Regions from separate parts of the Homo sapiens genome. Here region 2 is linked to region 1. Evidence: promoter capture Hi-C in human tissues and cell types (Jung and others, 2019). All regions are on one chromosome and are shown on one strand. The core of a region is centred on a gene start or on the middle of the fragment in contact, and the rest is flanking DNA. Distances in the headings are between cores, read along the strand shown. Region 1 holds the start of FANCL (FA complementation group L). Region 2 has its middle 39 kb from the start of LINC01795.

What was found. Contacts are between HindIII fragments. The study calls those that stand out against the background at their distance.
Region 2: a contact is called between a fragment that was not itself captured here and the fragment with the promoter of FANCL in region 1, in 2 of the 25 tissues and cell types used here (H1 embryonic stem cells and neural progenitor cells).

Annotation. Positions count from the first base shown.
Region 1 is chr2:58,237,468-58,245,178 of GRCh38, reverse strand. FANCL (FA complementation group L) reads left to right here and starts at 3,854. Exons shown (of 14, transcript NM_018062.4): 1 at 3,854-3,961. The coding sequence starts at 3,866. RefSeq lists an enhancer at 3,507-3,666 and a silencer at 4,207-4,256. The HindIII fragment of the contact is 14,155 bases long and covers 742-7,711 here.
Region 2 is chr2:58,310,817-58,318,527 of GRCh38, reverse strand. No RefSeq gene overlaps it. Among named protein-coding and RNA genes, the nearest start is that of LINC01795, 39 kb to the right of the region's middle. The HindIII fragment of the contact is 6,088 bases long and covers 1-5,837 here.

The DNA.
Region 1 (7,711 bases), core at 2,605-5,104:
CTACAGCCCAGAGTGAAGCAGAAATTGTTATTCTGTACCTGCAATGGATCTAGACTCATTATTGGTAAAACCTACCTACCAAGGGAGTGTGCTCCAAAAGAGTTGGGGTAGGGTTATAGGAGCCAGGTTGTCTTCTCCATATATCACCCTACCAGACTTTGGTCACATAATTAAGTCTTTGTAGTTTATTTCTTATGGATATGGTCTTTTCAAGGCTGAAAAATTATTCACTACATCGCAATTTATAAACTGCTGTTTAGTGCATGGATAGAAAAACAGGCAAGAGCAAACTGATCTTTCAAATTAATAAATGCTTTTGCGTGATCAAATCCAAAGGCCTCTCTATAATTCTCAGTTTTTTCAACCTTTAGGTAGCATTTTACACTCCTGATCATGCCTTAATCTTGACTATCTGCTGTCTTTTCCATTCTATGACACAGTGCCACAGAGAATAGGATATTATTGGCTTGCTTTTCCAGTTTTTTTGAAAACTCTTTTAAATGGCTATTCTTCCTTCACTTTCCCCTAATTTTCATTTTCCCTTTATTTTCACATTTCGCAAGTCTCTTCCTTCATCTTTCTTCTCAGCAGACTCAAACAATCTCTCCTTTATTAATCTTATTAATGTTAATGGCAGGCATCCTATCTTCTTCCATTACTGGTGGGAACTGGGAGAAGAAACTCTTGGGACATGGCTAAACATTTGGGCTATAAAATAAGGATAACAGATGCTAATTGGAATGGTATAAGCATTTTAAATTTTAATTTTTAATTTTAAGACTAATAATTCTCCTTTAAAAAATTAAAATATAAAAGATAAAAGTCTCCATGGGCCATTATCTCCATTCTTTGTTCCCATCTCCCTCCCCTAAAGTAACCATTGCTAGTAATACAGAGCAACTTTACTTATATATTTGAATATAAATGTTATAATAGTAAGCATACCATTCTGGAATTTGTGCTTTTTATTTGTCAAAATGTTTGGATATTTTTCTGTGTTAGAATATAAAGTTCTTCCTCAGGCAATAGCATTTAAATAGTAGTAATTTTTGTGGCAAAGTATATAAATGAAATCCTGCCTAGGATACCTGGTGGAACTTGAACTTTAATGAGGATCTTTGTGCAGTTTGTCAGAGTGATTCCAAAATTGAAATCATGCTGATGGTGGTAGAAGTAGTTCCTTGGCTTTCTGATCTTTAAACATATTGAGCATTTTTGTTTTTTTTTTTTTTGGATTTTGGGGTGGCTGACTTCAACTGGGCTATATATAAATGGTTCCAGCACAACCACGTATGAATTGATGATGGTAGTGAGTATCCAACTTTCAGTCTTGAACACCTAAGGATAATAGTCGAGTAATTGAATTAAAAAGTTTTTATATGGTATCTTACCTTGTTCCTTGGTCATTGGATTTCTTCAATTATAGATTTTATTGATAAGGAATGCTCATTTACAAGTTCAACTATCATAACAGTGACTTGGATGTCTTTTCTTTAAAATCTAAGATGATAAATTAGCAATAAACGTGCTGGAAATCTTTAAGTCTAGTTACCTAATTATGGGGATTCCGAATCAAGGAGCCAACTGCTTTTGGCAAGTGGTCACACTGTCCAGTGTATCAATAGTAAAGGTGAATGTGATGTAAGGTCACAGCCAAAAGACTGTGTTCCAGGAAGTGACTCCTCACCAGACACCAAATCTTGTCCTTGCGTCTTGATTTTGGACTTCTCAGCCTCCATAACTAAGAAATAATTAATTTCTGCGGATTACCTATCCAGTTTATGGTATTCTGCTATAACAACCCAAATTAAGATATTTAGTAAATAATTTATTAGCACCTACGATGCAGCAGGAAATATGCTAAATGATTAGGGAGAGCAATAATTTTCAGAAGATTAAAAAAGCTTTCCAAAAAGACATAGCACTTGAGAAGAACTTTAAAGAAAGGGTAGAAGTTCCATGGGGGAAAGTGTGGTGGTGGGGAAGTTTAACATACTGGATACAATAAAGATCTTAATTCACAGATAAATTATAAAGTGCTTGAAGTAAGGGACTATATGTTCTCTTAATCTTTGTGTTGATCCCACTTTTGCACAGCCTCTACTTTATTCTTATAGGAAAACATGTAGCATGGCCGTCCTTAATTACCGAGTTGCAAAATAAAGCAGGTGTTATGTCCTGCCCCTGCAGAGATCCTCAAACCTTAGCATGCATCAGAATCACCTGGAGAGCTTGTTAAAACGCAGACTGCTGAGCCCTATTGCCAGTGTTTGGGATTCCCGAGGTTTGAAATAGGGGCCTGTAGGGAATGAGAAACATCTTTCTTTCCTGTTGCTAGATTCCTGTTTGAGTCCCTTATAAGAAAAGACAGATTAATAAGAGAAAAGCGTGCAAATTTATTTAAGTTTTATGTGGCATGGGAGCCTTCAGAGATGAAGCCCAAAGAAACAGGAAAACCTGTGCATTTTTAGAAGGAACAGTGGACAGTTGTGGGGAAGTACGGTTGGACAAAGCATGGTCTAATGGTAATAAACTGGGGTAAGTTGTCAAAGGTCTTTTTGTTCAGATTCTTTTCTATGTCTCCGTTTCTTTAGAGATAAGGATATTTCTTTCCTGTGGGTATAGGAAGAGCACCTCTGGATTGAGGATCCAATGACCCGCCTCAGGGAAGAAGGATGGGAGAAGGTCAGAGAGTGATCTTAGGTTTTGTTGTTTTCTCAAATGTCAAGGGGCCATATTTTGGGGTAGCATATCCTGAACCCCATCAGCGGTGAAAACTTGTATTTCTACATAGTTCCCAGGTGATGCTGTTGCTAGGTTCTAGGATCACGTTTTGAGAACCACTGCTTTAATGTAATTTATATCTAACCACTGCTCCAGCATTCTTTTCTGTAAGCATCCAGAATGCTGTGACAAATTCTTGTCAAACTTTAAGAATCTTCAGGATGTCAAATTCTGTCTTGAGGTCAATAAAGATGGGTAGGGGACGAAATAATCTTTGCTCAACCTTTGGCACATTACAATGATGTTTTTCAAATAGTAGGGCTCAAACGTGATGCATTGGAAAATTGGAAAATTGGAAAATCAAATAATCATATGGTAAATATTTTAGTAGGTTTCTTATTTAATCAACTCTTAATAAGATGGGATGGATAACATTCCTGAGTTAGAAAAACATATTGCAAGCGCTGTCAGAGGAAAATTAAGTTCAAGTCCATCAGCAATCTTTACTCATGTTTTGCTTTATATATTTGTGAGTGCCGTACACAGAACTGAGTCCAGTGTTGACTTGAGTCTAATCAATACACATATACGTATACATGTGTGTGCCTCAAATATATCTGATTGAACTTAGTAAGCCACAGAACTGTAATATATATGATATAATCAATGTGTTATACATTATATTACAATAATTATACACAAAATAATACATTATTCTGTATGTTAAGGGAGAGAGGACAACAGCAAAGAAGACAGAGTGCTACAACGTCCAGGCTGTAAAAGTCATTTTATTCTGGAGGAAATGCAACACCAAAGTTGTAACAGTCTTTCAATAAAGTAAAACAGAATCATCGAAAGGGCTCCTGGGACAATTGAGGCTAGAATGATCTTGGTCAGTCAGTCCTGTGGACTTGAGGGCAATCTTCCCTCCCACTACCGGTTGGGGAGCCCTGATGTCGCCTCCCGCAGAGCGCCACTTGGCCTGGCCTGCGCTTCACCTTCATTTCCGCCCGCGGAATCCTCCAGGATCTTCCCGCCAAGGCTGGGGTTTCCGCTCCGCGGCGTCCGAGCGCCAGCGGACTGCGCATGTGCAGGACCCAGCAGGTCTAGAGCTTTTCTGTGTTTCTCCGGACTTCGAGCCATGGCGGTGACGGAAGCGAGCCTGTTGCGCCAGTGCCCCCTGCTTCTGCCCCAGAACCGGTCGAAAACCGTGTATGAGGGATTCATCTCGGCTCAGGTACCCGCCCAGTGGTTGCTTTCTAGCTAAGAGAGCCTCTTGCAGCGTAGCTGCGCGGAGAAGTCTGTGACGGGCTAGGAGGTTAGGGGCCCAGACTTGTGGGGATTGAGAGGGGCGGCGCGTAACGGCTCTTGGGAGACTAAAGGTTTGAGAAGCGCCGCTGTCGCCGCCACCCCGGTGGTCGCCGCGCTGGATGGGGAGCGAGGAGGCGCGCGGCGTGGAGCGGGGCTGGGGCCACGCCTCCTCTCTCCCTAGCCCTTCCCCGAGTTTGGCTTCCTTCTTCGTTCAGTGTCCCGCAATTGACTGTTTTTTAATTTTTTTTTTGTAAATTTTGCCTTAACTCGATTTTAACACCCTCCACCTCCACGGATGTTGATGAGTTCACTCGGGAATCTGGGCTAATTATTTTCGTGTTTCCTGTAGAAAGAACATTTGGGAAGAAAACCTTATTTTGGCCCTTTGCCAAGTCGTATGTACCTGTACACCCACAGTTACAATATCTTCTAGGAGAAGCATGACAGCAATGGAATTAATTAACTTTGCTGATTCCAGTGGCCTCTCATATGGAGTTTATTACACATACTAACACATGTGTAGGGTTTTGAAGTTTACAAAGCGCTTTCCAGGTAAATAGTTCACTTAATCCTCAGCCCTTTGAGGCAGAAATTTTTAAAAGAATCATCATTCCCATTTTCTAGTTGAAGAAATCAAGGTATGGGAAACCGGAGACGTTATTTGCTGATGATCACATCAGAATCCCTTAAACGCAGGCTGTGTGATTTCAGTCCTGGATTTTTTTCTCTTTACATTGCACCAGGATACCTTAGGTTAGGAGTGTAGACTTTTCCTTTCTGACCATTACACTCAACCTTGTGCCCACTTCCCCACCATCACGCATAGTCTTTGAGTATATGTGGAATTACCATATGACCATCACAGAAAGTAGAGGTTAAAAATTCATTATTCCATATGGAAAAAAGTTAATCCACCTTTCCCTCTCCAATTAGAAGTATTCTTCTTGAATTACCTAGCTGAAAATATGATTCTCTTGTAGACAACATTTAGAAAAGTTGAAAAATTTTAAGTTACTTTTTTTTTTTTTTTTTTACAGGAAGCATGTTATACCTAATTTTAGGCAAAATACTGTTATGTATGTCTATATCTGCTAAGGCCTTTTAGGAAACAAGTACACCCATTAGAATTGAGATTAGATGAAAGTTTCTTTTATGACCATTGCTATAGCTAGAATTCCAATTTGTACCTGCCTTAGCAGTTTATTTAAATCTTAAACATTTTACGTGTCTAAAAATATTTTGTATATATTTTAAATTTACAGAAAAGTAGCAAGGATATACAGTACAAGTAATTCCAGTATACCCTTTACCTAGATTCACCAGTTTACATTTTCTCCATTTTACTGATCATTGTTAAGTATATGTATGTGGGTGGGTGTGTATACACATTATTTTCCTGAACCATTTGAGGTCAAATCAGGCGTAGTTCCCCTTTATCCCTAAATACTTGAGCATACATTTCATAAGAACGAGGACACACTCATACATAACCACAGTACAGTGATTAAAATCAGGATATTTAATGATATACTATTATCTAAGATAGAGTCCATATTTCAAATTTTGTTTATGATACAGTTGTATGTTTTATACCCCCATCCCCTACCATCTGTTGTTAAGATCCCACATTACATTTAGTTGTCATGTCTAACCTGGAACAATTCTCAGTCTGTTTGTGTTTTTTATAAGCTAGACATTTTTAAAGAGTACAGATTGGCTGTTAGGTAGAATGTATCTCAATTTGGGTTTGGATGATATTTCCTCACTATTAAATTCAGCTAATGCATTTTTGGCAGGGATACTACAGAAAGATTGTTTTGTCCTTCTCAAGGCTTGTGAGGTTACCTGGTTGGTTCCATTATTAATGATGTTAACTTTGATCACCTGGTTAAGGTATCATCTGTCAGAGTCTCCTTTTGTAATTAATAAGTACTTTTGGGGAGGTACTCTGAGGCATCAAACTTTCACACACATTCTCTGGTTTTAGCGTCCATTGACTTTTGCTTGAGTCGACTATTACTATCACGGTTGCCAAATGATGATTTTCTAACTCTTGTCATTTCTATATTTATGAAGTGGCAATTCATTATAAGGAGTAGCATTGCCTGCTTTCTCATTTATTTAATTATATTAGAATGGATGCATGGACTTTTAAAAAAATTACTTGATTATAATCATTATTTATTTTGATCCTCGAATTGTCCCAGATTTGGCCAGTGAGCAGGTTTTATGTATGTAAGTTTTTAAGGCTTTGCATTTCCTCTCATCAGTGTTTTAAAAGTATCCTATAGATGCTGACATGTAGCCTTATAACCACCATTTTTAGAAGCTATATGATGTCAATTTACTATGCACCTTAATAGGTTGTAAAAATTTTCTCGTGGAAGGTCCTTTTTGGTTTTTAATTTTGTTGCTGATTTCTAATTTTTCTTGTATTGTAATTAGACAGTATTGTTTATAAAAAAGTCTCCATGGAACTTACTGGTACTTTTTCCTGTGACCTAATATGTAATCAGTTTTAGGTGTTGTCTCTATTATCAGATTTTCTCTTTCCTTTTGAGTGAGCTTTGGTAGTTTGTGTCTTTCAAGGAATTTGTTAGTTTCATCTAGGTTTCTGATTTTATTGGCTTAAAGTTATTTACAATAATCCCTTATTATCCTTTTAATGTCTTTAGGATCTGTAATGATGCTCTCTATGTTGGTTATCTTTTGCTGCTATTTACTTCAAACCTTAGTGGCTTAAAACAAAAACAATTATTGTCTCACTGTTTCTGTGGATTTGAAATTTGCGAACAACTTGGATGGTAGTTCTTGATCAAAATCTCTCATGATCTTGCAATCAAGATATTTGCCAAGACTTTGATGGTCTAAAACAGGGTGTCCAATCTTTTGGCTTCCCTGGGTCACATTGGAAGAAGAAGAATTGTCTTGGGCACACATAAAATACACTAATGATAGCTGATAAGCTAAAAAAAAATCACAAAAAATCCCATAATGTTTTAAGAAAGTTTATTAATTTGTGTTGGGCTGCATTCAGAGCTGTCCTGGGCTGCCAGTTGGTCAAGCTAGAGGTGGAGGATTTGCTTCCAAGATTGCTCATTCACATAGCTATTGGCCATGAGGCCTCAGTTTGTTACTGCTCTTAACAGGAGGCCTTAGTTCCTCACCACATGGATCTTTATAGTGTTGCTTGACTGTTATCACACATGGCAGCTAGCTTCTCCTGAGTGTATGATACAACAGAGAGATCAATAAAGATGCACATTCTCTTTAATCTCTTAGTCTCTGAAGTCACACACATTTACTTCTGCTTTATTGTGTTAGATGCAAGTTTCTTAGTCTATATTCAAAAGGAGGGAAATTAGGCACCAACTCCTAGAGGTAGGAGTGTCAAATAATTTATGGATATACGTTAAAAATAGCTTTCATCCTCATATCTGATGTAGGTAATTTATGTCTCATTTTTTCCCCCGATACATCTAGATAGAGGTTTATAAATTTTACTGATTTCTTCAAAGAACCTGTCTTTAATTTCTTCAATTTTTTTCTATTATTTTTATGTTTCTATATGATAGTTTTCTGATCTTAAGTTTCCTGATTTCTTTAGATGGAAGATTATTGATATGAGATCTTTCTTCTATTCTAGTACAGATATTTAGTGCTTTAAATTTTCTTT
Region 2 (7,711 bases), core at 1,544-4,043, 74 kb before region 1:
AAACAGTGTAAACCGGCAGTGTAAACAAGAGCAGGGCATGTATGAGTAGTTGAGAACGGTGAATAGGAGTATGACTAGACAGAAGATAGTAGGGATGACAAGTTTTTTTTGGGGCACGGTCTAAGTTGGTCTGGTGTCTGGAATGAGACTGGGGCCTAATAAAAAGGAGCGTCTACACAGGAGCTCAAATGGGCTGTACCTTGTAGCATTCTGAAGACAGGTCTGACTTCTGAGAAGGGAAAGTCGTAAAAGTATTGTCCAGTCCTTTTTAAGTTGGTGGCTGAGCTTGGTGAGGTGTGTTTTTAAAAGACCTTTAGTCCATTCTACTTTTTCTGAAGACAGAGGACCGTAAGGGATATAAAGGTTTCACTGAATACTGAGAGCCTGAAAAACTGCTTGGCTGATTTGATTAATAAAGGCTGGTCTGTTATCAGACTGTATAGAGGTGGGAAGGCTAAACTGAGGAATTATGTCTGACAGAAGGGAAGAAATGACTGTGGTGGCCTTCTCAGACCCTGTAGGAAAGGACTCTACCTATCCAGTGAAAGTGTCTACCTAGACTAAGAGGTATTTTAGTTTCCTGACTCGGGACATGTTGAGTAAAGCTAATTTGCCCGTCCTGGGTGGGGGCAAATCCTCGAGCTTGATGTGTAGGGAAGGGAGGGGGCCTGAATAATCCCTGAGGAGTAGTAGAATAGCAGATGGAACACTGAGAAGTTATTTCCTTGAGGATAGATTTCCATGATGCAAAGGAAATGAGAGGTTCTAAGAGGCGGGCTAGTGGCTGGTACTATAGCATAGCCTGCCTTTTCTGGTGTGTGGCGATTAGGCCTGGTGGAACTGCCATCAATAAATCAAGCGTGATCAGGGTGAGGGACAGGAAAGAAGGAAATATGGGGAAATGGGGTGAATATCAGGTGGATCAGAGAGATACAGTCATGGGGGTCAGGTGTGGTATCAGGAATAATGTGGGAGGCCAGATTGAAGTCCGGGCCAGAAACAATGGTAGTTGTGGGACTTAAAGAGTGAGTTCAGCTGAAGGAGCTGGGGAGCAGAAAGTATATGCGTCAGGTATGAGGAAGAAAATAGATTTTGGAAGTTGTGAGAAATGTAGAGAGTAAGTTGAGCATAGTTTTTGATTTTGAGGGCCTCTAAAAGTATTAGGGCGGCAGCAGCCGCTGCACAGAGACATGATGGCTAGGCTAAAACAGTAAGGTCAAGTTGTTTGGACAGAAAGGCTACAGGGTGCGGTCCTGGCTCTTGTGTAAGAATTCTGACTGCACTAACCATGCCTAGGAAGGAAAGGAGTTGTTTTGTAAGGGATTGAGGTTTTGGAGATTAATCGGACATGATCAGCAGGGAGAGCACGTGTGTTTTTATGAGAATTATGCCAAGATAGGTAACAGATGAGGATGAAATTTGGGCTTGACTGAAGTAATGGGGGCTGTCTGTGAAGCCTTGCGGCAGTACAGCCCAGGTAATTTGCTGAGCCTAATGGGTGTCAGGGTCAGTCCAAGTGAAAGCGAAGAGAGGCTGGGATGACGGGTGCAAAGGAATAGTAAGGAAAGCATGTTTGAGATCCAGAACAGAATAATGGATTTGGAGGGAGGTATTGAGGATAGGAGAGTATATGGGTTTGCCACCATGCGGTGGATAGGCAAAACAATTTGGTTGATAAGGCATAGATCCTGAACTAACTTGTAAGGCTTGTCTGGTTTTAGGACAGGTAAAACGGGGGAATTGTAAGGAGAGTTTATAGGCCTTAAAAGGTCATGCTGTAGCAGGCGAGTGATAACATGCTTTGAAAGGATTAAAGCCTTTCAAAGCATGTTGTGGGATGGGATATTGGCATTGATCAGGGTAAGGGTGATTAGGTTTTAATGAGATGGTAAGGGGTGCTTGATCGGTCGCCAAAGAGGGAGTAGAGGTATCTTACACTTGTGGGTTGAGGTAGGGGAATACAAGAGGAGGACGCAAAGGAGGCTTTGGATTGGGAAGAAGGGCGGCAATGAGATGTAGCTGTAATCCAGGAATAGTCAGGGAAGCTGATAATTTAGTTAAAGTGTCTCGGCCTAATAAGGAAACTGGGCAGGTGGGGATAACTAAAAGGAGTGCTTAAAAGAGTATTGTCTAAGTTGACACCAGAGTTGGGGAGTTTTAAGAGGTTTAGAAGCCTGGCTGTCAATACGCACAACAGTTATGGAGGTAAGGGAAACAGGCCCTTGAAAAGAAGGTAATGTGGAGTGAGTAGCCTCGGTATTGATTAAGAAGGGGACAGACTTACCCTCCACTGCGAGTTACCCGAAGCTCGGCGTCCGTGATGGCCTAGGGGGCTTCCGAGGTGATCGGGCAGCGTCAGTCTTCAGCCGCTAAGCCAAGAAGATCTGGGAAGGAGTCAGAGAACCTTGGGCCAGAGTTCCAGGGGCTTTGGGAGTGGCTGCCAGGTGAGTTGGACAGTCCGATTTCCAGCGGGGTCCCGCACAGATGGGACACAGCTTAGGAGGAATCCTGGGCTGCAGGCATTCCTTGGCCTGGTGGCCAGATTTCTGGCACTTGTAGCAAGCTCCTGGGGGAGGAGGTTCTGGAGGAATGCCTGGCCACTGCAGTTCAGGCGTTTGGAAGTTCTTGTGTGCTGGAGATGTGGCTGGGGTTTGTCTCACAGTGGAGGCAAGGAATTGCAACTTTTTTCTATTATTGTACACCTTGAAGGTGAGGTTAATTAAATCCTGTTGTGGGGTTTGAGGGCCGGAATTTAATTTTTGGAGTTTTATTTAATGTCAGGAGCAGAAGAATTGGGACCTAGCAGAAGAATTGGGACTGAGGGGACAGGTGGGAGGGAAAGAAGCAAGATTTGGGATGAGTTGCATTGGGAACAGAGACTAGAGAGTGACAGATGTGTAAAAGAATGCCTGGACGTCAGGCACCTCAGACCATTTGCCCGTTTTACGACAAGAATTATTTAGATCTTGTAGGATGGAAAAATTGAAAGTGCCATTTTCCGGCTATTTGGAACTACTTTTGAGTTTGTATTGGGGTCAAGCGGAATTGCAGAAGAAAGTAAGACGCTTAGATTTTAGGTCAGGTGAGAGTTGAAGAGGTTTTAAGTTCTTAAGAACACAGGCTAAGGGAGAAGAAGGAGGAATGTAAGGTGGAAGCTTGCCTATAGTGAAGGAGGCAAGACCAGAGAAAAGAGTAGAGACACGGAGAAGGGGTGGGGGGTTCTTGCCCTCCAGAAAAGCAGAGAAGGGGTCGGGGCACAGAGATACAAGGTCAGGGCATGGAAATAAGGGATCAGGGTGCAGAGATATAAGAGGTCGGGGCGTGGAAATAAGGGATCGGGGCACAGAGATACGAGGTTGGGGTACTTGCCCCTCCTCTAGAAAAGCGGGAGTTGCCACTCAGGGTGAAGGAGAAGGGGTTGGGGGTTTCTTGCCCCCCAGAAAGGCAGAGAAGGGGTAGAGACATGGAGAGAAGGGATTGGGGTACTTGCCCCTTCCCCCAGAAAAGTGGGACTTGCTGCTAAGGGTGAAGGACCAAGGCAGGTGTCCCTGCGTGGTCTGACACCTCTGAAACCTGGGTGAATAATCAGAGAGGCATCCCTGCAAAGGTTAAACACCAAGGGAAGGCTGCCTTCCCTAGTCCATGACCGGTGCCGGAGTTTTGGGTCCACGGATAAAACGTGTCTCCTTTTTCTCTACCCGAAAAATGAAAGGAATTGAAATTAAGAGAAGGGAGAGATTGAAGAGTGGAAAGGAGAAAGTGGTTGAGGGACAGTGAGAGAGGTTGGAGAAGAGAGTAAGAAGAGGCCGCTTACCCGATTTAAAATTGGTGAGATGTTCCTTGGGCTGGTCGGTCTGAGGACCTGAGCTTGTAGGTGGATCTTTCTCATGGAGCAAAGAACAGGAGGACAGGGGATTGATCTCCCAAGGGAGGTCCGCCGATCTGAGTCACGGCACCAAATTTCATGCGCGTCTGTGTGAAGAGACCACCGAACAGGCTTTGTGTGAGCAACATGGCTGTTTATTTCACCTGGGTGCAGGCAGACTGAGTCCGAAAAGAGAATCAGCGAAGGGAGATAGGGGTGGGGCCATTTTATAGGATTTGGGTAGGTAAAGGAAAAAGGGGTGTTGTTCTCTGGTGGGCAGGAGTGGGGGTCACAAGGTACTCAGTGGGGGAGCTTTTGAGCCAGGATGAGCCAGGAAAAGGAATTTCACAAGACAGTGTCATCAGTTAAGGCAGGAACAGGCCATTTTCACTTCTTTTGTGGTGGAATGTCATCAGTGGAATGTCATCGATCTGGATGTGTATGTCTAGGTCACAGGGGATATGATGGCTTACCTTGGGCTCAGAGGCCTGACACTCTGTGAAAAGGGATAATAATTGGGCCATTCTTGTCATACTCAACTAAAACAGAGTGGAGAATCCAGGTGGCAAAAGCCCTCAGGGCACATGATGCTGCTCCAAGAATTTAATTCTCTGCAAGACTGGCTGCTGAAACTGCTTGCTGTAACTTGAAACCAGTTTTATTTACTGGTTTCTGAAATAAACTGTTGCAACTCTAAGCCCCCTTTTACCCACCACCACCACTTGCCAGCTCTCGAAAACTTTACTAGTGCCATTGAACTTTCTGGAGAAACAATATCTAACATTTCTTCTTTTCCTGGAATTTCCAACCTTCTCTTTGTTCTTCCGACATACTGAAGACCACCTCATGAGATCTGGTTGTTTAAAAGTGTGTAGCATCTCTCCTCTCTCTCTCTTCCTCCTAGCTCCAGCCATGTGAGACATCTCACCCCCTCTTTGCCTTTTGCTATGATTGTAAGTTTCCTGAGAGCTCCCCAGAAGCTGAGCAGATGATGCCATGTTTCCTGTACAACCTGCAGAACTGTGAGCCAATTAAACCTCTTTTTTTTTTAGAATAAGTTTTGCTCTGTCACCCGGGCTGGAGTGCAGTGGCACAATCTCAGCTCACTGCAACCTCCGCCTCCTGGGTTCAAGTGATTCTCCTGCCTCAGCCTCCCAAGTAGTTGGGATTACAGGCACCCGCCATGACACCTGGCTAATTTTTGTATGTTTAGTAGAGACGGGTTTCACCATGTTGGCCAGGTGGGTCTTGAACTCCTGACCTCAGGCAATCCGCCCACCTTGGCCTCCCAAAGTGCTGGGATTACAGGTGTGAGCCACCACCCCTGGCCTAAACCTCTTTTCTTTATAAATTATTCAGTCTCAGGTATTTCTTTATAGCAGTGTGAGAATGGCTTAACACATCTTGTAAACCAGAAATCAAATTCTAAGCCCCAAAACCAACTGAATAGACCCCTTCCCTCAGCCAAGGGGATTCCAAAGTAAACCTGAAAATCTAGTTCAGGCCATGATGGGATGTAGGGGTTGGACATGCTTCATTATACTCTCCTCCCTTTGGAATTCAGGCACAGCTGACCAGCATTAGCATTAAAACAGAAATCTTAAGACTGACAAAACAGACTTTGTAGCAATAAGATACCAAATTTCAACCTGACTCTAGCATAGCATCCCATGACAGACTGCAAGCCCTGGAAGAAGTTATTTTACCCCAATATATATTTCTTTGACATATTTTAAAATGGCCCTGCAAAGCTGTCTCTTGTGGGAGAAATTTGCATTCTGTAGAGAACCCCCTTCCCTTTCCAGATCTTTTTTTGATCCTGAAGAGATTAGCTAAGAATCTAACACATTTGAAAGGTTTAAATACAAACCATTTGCCACCTATTCCCTCTAAGCCACCTGCGAGACGTCATCTACTGAATAAGAACCTTGTTGTCCACAACCCCTTATCTTATCCAGACATTCCTTCTATTGATTCCAAGTCTTTAGATAATAACTCAATGCTTTCAACTAATTGTCAATCAGAAAGTCTTTGAATGCACCTATGACCTGAAAACCCCTGCTTCGAGTTGTCCCTACTTAACAGACTAAATCAATGTATACCCTACATGTATTGGCTGAGGTTTGCCTGTAACTTCTGTCCCCCTTAAAATGTATAAAATCAAGTTTTTTTTTTTTTTTTTTTTTTTTTTTGAGACGGAGTCTCGCTCTGTTGCCCAGGCCGGACTGCGGACTGCAGTGGCGCAATCTCGGCTCACTGCAAGCTCCGCTTCCCGGGTTCACGCCATTCTCCTGCCTCAGCCTCCCGAGTAGCTGGGACTACAGGCGCCCGCCACCGCACCCGGCTAATTTTTTGTATTTTTAGTAGAGACGGGGTTTCACCTTGTTAGCCAGGATGGTCTCGATCTCCTGACCTCATGATCCATCCGCCTCGGCCTCCCAAAGTGCTGGGATTACAGGCGTGAGCCACCGCGCCCGGCCTAAAATCAAGTTTTAACCCAACCACCTTGGGTGCATGTTCTCAGGCCCTCTTGAGACTGTGATTCTGGTCATGGCCACTCGTATTTGGCTCAGAATAAATCTCTTCATGTATTTTACAGAGTTTGTTTCTTTTCATGATCAATCTACATTTTTATTTTGACCTTGACAACTCCATGGTGGTATCTCTTTCTCTCATGTATGTTTGTTTGCAGTAATCTCTTGAGGTAAAACTTACGTTTTACAGAAGACCCAGATTTTAAATATAGTTTTATGAGCTGTAAATATCTTGATTACCTCTCTAATCAAGATTTAGAACATTTCTATCATCCCAGGAAGTTTCCACAAGGACTTTCTAGTCAATTGCTCCCCCTTCTCGCAAAGCAAAAATTAAAAATCATACCATACAATCTGTTATCATAGATTAGTTTTGGCCTGAACTTGTACTTCATGTAAATGCAGCTATATAGAGTAAATTCTTTTTCTGACTTTTTTAGTTTAGCATAATATTTTGAAATTGTTGAGAATGTTCATGTTATTTGTACCAGTAGATCATTCTTTGTATGGTTGAATACTGTTCTGTTGTATGGATATTCCACGTAATATTTGGGTTGTTTTTGAGTTTTTTGCTCCCAGGAATAAATCCATTATAAACATTTATGTACAATTATTTTTTGTAGACATATGTTTTTGTTTTTCTTAGGTCTTAGGATTGGATTGCAAAGTCAAAGAGTAGCTGTTCTAATATTAAATGTACCATGACATTCAGGTTTTATAAATTAGTGTAAAGAGTTTAGTTAAGGTTAAGTTCACCAATGAGAGGTGGCTGCCTTATAAGCATGATGATAAACAGGATTTTCAATACTGATGGCAATCCTGAATTGTGATGAATTAATCATGGAAAGCCTCCCTGAGGAGCCATTTCCAGACATGAGCTGGCCTTCCCCCCATGTTTTTCTTCTGCTGTGCTGTGGATCAGGAGTCTGTTTATCTGAAGCTCTGTATTATGCAACTGCTCTCTCTGCCTGTCCTGTGCCACACTCGCATCTGCAGTCGGTCATTCACTATGTCCCTGTTGGGAGAAAAAAATTTTTTTTTCCAACTTGGATCCAGTGATTGGGGGCCTGCAAATTAACTGGCAATAGCAAAGAATGACTTGTGAATGGGTAGCCCTCGAACCAGAATAGGATTAGAGATGCCCCCAGCACAGCCTCATAGTCAAAGGACATTTATGAACAGAGAAAGGAAAGTGACATACAGAAAAAAATGGAAGTCAGATACAGAAACATTAGATTGGTTACAGCTCAGCCTTTGCCTTATTTGAATACAGTTTGAACAGTTGGCCACATTTGATTGGCCAAAACTCAAT